2 separate regions of the Homo sapiens genome follow, and region 1 is linked to region 2. Evidence: promoter capture Hi-C in 16 types of primary human blood cells and fetal thymus (Javierre and others, 2016). All regions are on one chromosome and are shown on one strand. The core of a region is centred on a gene start or on the middle of the fragment in contact, and the rest is flanking DNA. Distances in the headings are between cores, read along the strand shown. Region 1 overlaps AP3B2 (adaptor related protein complex 3 subunit beta 2). Region 2 holds the start of AP3B2 (adaptor related protein complex 3 subunit beta 2).

Region 1 (2,700 bases), core at 101-2,600, 38 kb after region 2:
TTGGTGGCTTCAAACAACACACGTTTATTTTCTCAGTGTCTATGGGTCGAGAATTCAGGTATGGCTTAGTTGGATCTTATGCAAGGCTACAACTGAGGTGTCAGCCAAGGCTGAGTTTTTATCTGGAGGCTGTACTGGGGAAAGGTCCACTTCCAAGTCACATGGTGCCACGATCCACTTCCTTGCAGTTGTAGGATTGTGGCCCTGGCTTCTTGCTGGCTGTCAGCTGGGGGCTGCCCTTGCCTTCTAGAGGCCGTCCTTAGCTCATTGCCATAGGGGCCTCCCAACACGGATGCTTAATTTCTCCAAAGCCACAAGGGAGAAAGTCTCTAGAGCCAGTCTGCTAGCAAGACCGTCTTCTTTTTATTTTTTAATTTTTATGGGTACATAGTAGGTGTATATATTTATGGGGTATGTGAGATATTTTGATACAGGCATATAATGCATAACAATCACATCAGGGAATGGGGTATCCATCCTCTCAAGCATTTATCTTTTGTGTTACAAACAATCAAATTACACTCTCTTAGTTATTTATAAATGTATAATAAATTATTGTTGACTGTAGTCACCCTGTTGTGCTGTCAAATACTAGATCTTACACATTCTATCTAACTATAATTTTGTACCCATTAACTATCCCCACTTCCCCCACCCACTACCCTTCTCAGCCTCTGGTAACCATTATTCTACTCTCCAACTCCATGAGCTCAATTCTTTTAATTTTTAGCCCTCACAAATAAGTGAGAACATGTGAAGTTTGTTTTTCTGTGCTTGGCTTATTTCACTTAAAATAATGACCTCTAGTTCTATCCATGTTGTTGCAAATGACAGGATCTCATTCTTTTTTATTCTTTTTTTATAGTACTGCATTGTGCATATGTACCGTATTTTCTTTATCTATTTGTCTGTTGATAGACACTTAAGTTGCTTTCAAATCTTGGCTATGGTGAACAGTGCTGCAATAAACGTAGGTGTGCAGATATAACTTCAATATGTTGATTTCCTTACTTTTGGGTATATACATAGCATTGGGATTGCTGGATCATATGGTAGCACTATTTTTAGTTTTTGTTTGTTTGTTTGAGATGGAGTCTTGCACTGTCACCCAGGCTGGAGTGCAATGGCATGATCTCAGCTCACTGCAACCTCCGCCTCCCAGGTTCAAACGATTCTCCTGCCTCAGCCTCCTGAGTAGCTGGGATTACAGGCGCCCGCCACCAAGTCTGGCTAATTTTCATATTTTTAGTAGAGATGGGGTTTCACCATGTTGGCCAGGCTGGTCTTGAACTCCTGGCCGCAAGTGATCTGCCCGACTCGGCCTCCCAAAGTGCTGGGATTACAGGCGTGAGCCACTGCACCTGGCCTATTTGTAGTGTTTTTTTTTGAGATGGTGTTTCACTCTTTTTTCCCAGGCTGGAGTGCAATGGCGTGATCTTGCCTCACTGCAACCTCTGCCTCCTGGGTGCAAGTGATTCTTCTTCTGCCTCAGCCTCCCAAGTAGCTGAGATTACAGGTGCCTGCCACCACGCCTAGCTAATTTTTTGTATTTTTAGTAGAGACAGGGTTTCACCATGTTGGCCAGGATGGTCTTGATCTCTTGACCTCGCGATCCACCCACCTCGGCCTCCCAAAGTGCTGGGATTACAGGTGTGAGCCACCGTGCCCGGCCTATGTTTAGTTTTTTAAGGAACCTCCAAACTGTTCTCCAGACATTTCCACTAACAGTGTACAAGGGTTGCCTTTTCTCCATGTTCTTGTCAGCATTTGTTATTGCCTATCTTTTGGATATAAGCCTACTTGGGGTGAGATGATATATCTTTTTTTGTTTTGTTTTGTTTTTTGAGACGGAGTCTTGCTCTGTCACCCAGGCTGGAGTGTGCAGTGGTGCGATCTTGGCTCACTGCAACCTCTGCCTCTGTGGTTCAAGTGATTCTCCTGCCTCAGCCTCCTGAGTAGCTGGGACTACAGGCGTGCGTCACCACGCCCCGTTAATTTCTGTACTTTTAGTAAAGATGGGGTTTCGCTGTGTTGGTCAGGCTGGTCTCAACTCCTGATCTCAGGTGATCCGCCTGCCTCAGCCTCCCAAAGTACTGGGATTACAGGCATGAGCCACCCGTGCCTGGCCTTTCATTGTAGTTTTGATTTGCATTTCTCTGATGCTCAATGATGTTGATCACCTTTTCATATACGTGTTTGCTATCTGTATGTCTTCTTTTGAGAAATGTCTATTCAGCTCTTTTGCCCATTTTTAAATTGGATTATTGAATTTTTTTTTCCTATTGAGTTATTTGATCTCCTTACGTATTCTGGTTATTAATCCCTTGTCAGATGGGTAGTTTGCAAATTTTTTCCTCCTATTCTGTGGCTTGTCTCTTTGTTGATTCCTTTGCTGTGCAGAACCTTTGTAACTTGATGTGATCCCATTTGTCTACTTTTGCTTTGGTTGCCCGTGCTTGTGGGGTATCACTCAAGAAATCTTTGCCCAGTACAATGTCCTGGAGAATTTCTCTAATGTTTTCTTTTATTAGTTTCATAGTTTGAAGTGTTAGATTTAAGTTTTTAATCCACTATGATTTGATTTTTGCATATGGTGAGAGATAGGGGTCTGGTTTTATTGTTCTGCATGTGGATATCCCGTTTTCCCAGCGCCATTTATTGAAGAGACTCTCCTTTCCCTAATGTATGTTCTTGATACCT
Region 2 (2,700 bases), core at 28-2,527:
CATCCCACCTCCTGAGCAGACTAGCCAAAGCGCCTTATAAACGCGCAACTGCAAAATCCAGGCCCTTCTCTTCCCACTCCCCACCCAGGCCAGTTTTCTCCAAATTCAAGATCCACTTTTCTCTGGCAGGCACAAAGCCACCGGAACCAAGCGGACCCACCCACTTGTCTAGGTTATCCCAACAGAACCTTCTCATTACCCCAATAGAACCTTACCCCAGTAGAATTACCCCCAATAGAACTTTTCTACTGAGCCAAGCTCCACCTTTCTGGGCCCCACTCCTTCCCAGGTAGGCCCGCCAATTCTGCCCATGGAGACTTCGGGATGCTAGTTACAGACCAAGACTCAGGCCTTAGGAACTCCTCCAGTCCCCATGCCCAGCTAAAAGACTCCAGCCACCTCAACTGATGCCCAACTGGATCCTACCTCTTCCCCCAGCCCAATTCACTACTTTCCATCGGATCCAAGCCTTCCTTCCTTGGGCCTAGGGGTCACTCGGGCTCGGGAGCTGAACTGGAGGGCTCACATGACTCAGGAGCCCTGGTGGTCACACCAGACCCTTCTCTTCCTTTTCAGGTGTCAATGGACGTGGACGTGTCCCCGGATTAAGCATGACCTTGGCCCTCCTGGGTGGACGTGGAGGCTTCAGAAAGATTCATTAAACTACTTTCCAAAGCTTAATTAGATGTTCACCGTCCTCTGTATCCTGTTTCCCATCTCTCTAAGCCCCCAAGGGCTCCTCGGAGCTCCCTGACCTTAATTCCTTAAATTCCGCCACCTCCAGGAAGCTCCTCGGCTTCCTGCTGCCAAGCCAGATTTTGTAGGAAAGGTGGGGCGGGAAAGGGAGCGTCCTTAGGTATCTGAGGCCGGTCCTCGGGTGCGGTGACCCCTTCCCGCTCTAGAACCCCCAGCCTGCGGGCACAGCCTTCTTTCCAGTTCCCGCTTTCCCTCCACGGCGTGGGTGAGCATCCGCGCGTGCGTCTGGGGAGAGCGGAGCCCCAGAGGCCCGTCCCGCCGAGGCCAGGTGGTCGGGGGTGGGGGCAGCTATTCCACATCCCCTGCAAGACGGTCCCAGCGTCCGTCCAGCAGACTCGCCCACCTTTAGATCTGGAGACGAGCCAAGTCGCTTTAAAGGGCAGAAGACGCCCTGAAGAGGGCATTTCCTAGGGATGGGCGGGGCCAGGCCCTGACGCACCGCCCCTGTCGCCTCCTCGCGGACACGCCCTCCGCTCGGCTGGCGCCGGTGCCTTTAAGACCTCAGCGCGCGGCCCTGATTGAGAAATCCGCGCGCAGCCTCCGCCGCTGCACACTGCAGCCTCTGCTGAACCCCTGCCGCGCCGCCGCCTTCGCCAGCCCGGACCGGACCGGCCCGCCTTCCCTTCCTCCGCTCCAGCCGGCCTCCGGCCCCGCAACCTCCTCCTCGGCGAAGTCTCCCTGGCCGCCCCATGTCGGCCGCCCCCGCCTACAGCGAAGACAAGGGCGGCTCCGCTGGCCCCGGGGAGCCCGAGTACGGCCACGACCCCGCGAGCGGCGGCATCTTCTCCTCCGACTACAAGCGGTGAGGGAGCCCGCCAGGAAGCTCGCGGGAGGGTTGGGGCCGGGGACCGGGCGAGGCGCGCGGGCACCATGGACAGCGCCCGGCCCCAGCGCCGGCCCCGCCCCGGCCGCGCCGACCGGAAGCCCGCCCGGCCCCCTCCTGCGGCCTGGAGCCCCGGCCCAGCGCGGGCAGCGCTGGCACCCCGGCTCCAGGGGCCGGCCTAGGACGCGGAGGGGGGCAGATAGGGGCTGGCGGGGGATGGGCCAGCTCAGTTTCGAGAGGAGAAACCCTCCGGTTCCAGGTGTTTCTCCGGTTTGCGGCGTTGCGTTAGGGGTTCCCTTCCTTTTTCGTGCTAGGCGGGTTGGCTTCCCAAAAATGTGGGGGAGGGGTCTGAGTCAGCGAACTTGAGCTTGAGCCTGGGGCCTCTTCAGGAAGGCGGGCCCTGGATGTACTTGCACAGCCTCCCAGCTTGGCCCTGCTGCAAATTCATTTCCCCTCCCTCTGGTCCCCATCTCCATCTGACCCTCACATCCCTGCTCCTGGCATTGCCCCTGTAGTTCAGCTCCACCTTCACACCCTCCCCCACCTTTGATTCGTTCGTTTGTTTCTTCATTTGTTTATTCGTAAATTCTGCAACAAGCATTTATGAAAAGCCAACTGTGTCGAGTCCTGAACTAGTCACGGAATACAACTGTGAACATGAGACCCTTCTTGTCCTCACGATGCTCTAGAGGGGAGCACAGATGAAGAAGCAGTCAGGGACAGTCGAGTGTAATGGGGGCAGTGGGAGCAGGGAGAGGACCTAGTCTCTGGCGCCGGAGAGAAGGAAGACAGGAGCGTGAGGTATGTTCCAGGCAGAGGAAAGGGCTTTCAGGAAGGTTGAGAGCCAGGCCACAATCTGTGTGAGCCACTGGACTGACCAGAAAAGAGGGTGGGGAGGACTCCTGAAGGATTCTAAGCAGGCGACATAATCAGATTTATATTTTAGAAGGACGTCAGGCTGCTGCATTGTGGAGAAGAGATTGGAGGTGGGCCAGATTGAACAAGAGACAAGGGAGGTGGGTCTTGAAGTTCACAGGCCTGGCATGATTGTGGCCTAGACCAGGGGAGAGGCAGAAGATTTGAGGCTGTGGAAGAGGTGGAAGCCTCAGACCTGATGATTA

The links. The method cuts DNA at HindIII sites, captures the fragments that hold promoters and counts their contacts. A CHiCAGO score of 5 or more calls a contact.
Region 1: a contact is called between a fragment that was not itself captured here and the fragment with the promoter of AP3B2 in region 2, in 1 of 17 cell types (naive CD8 T cells). The highest score is 5.6, in naive CD8 T cells.

Annotation. Positions count from the first base shown.
Region 1 is chr15:82,670,429-82,673,128 of GRCh38, reverse strand. The region is part of intron 14 of AP3B2 (adaptor related protein complex 3 subunit beta 2); the gene reads left to right. The region is part of intron 3 of CPEB1-AS1 (CPEB1 antisense RNA 1); the gene reads right to left. Among named protein-coding and RNA genes, the nearest start is that of CPEB1-AS1, 24 kb to the right of the region's middle. The HindIII fragment of the contact is 8,602 bases long and covers 1-2,700 here.
Region 2 is chr15:82,708,452-82,711,151 of GRCh38, reverse strand. It overlaps AP3B2 (adaptor related protein complex 3 subunit beta 2), which reads left to right and starts at 1,277. Exons shown (of 27, transcript NM_001278512.2): 1 at 1,277-1,558. The coding sequence starts at 1,446. It also overlaps the pseudogene LOC338963. RefSeq lists silencers at 1,224-1,273, 1,494-1,753. The HindIII fragment of the contact is 2,125 bases long and covers 679-2,700 here.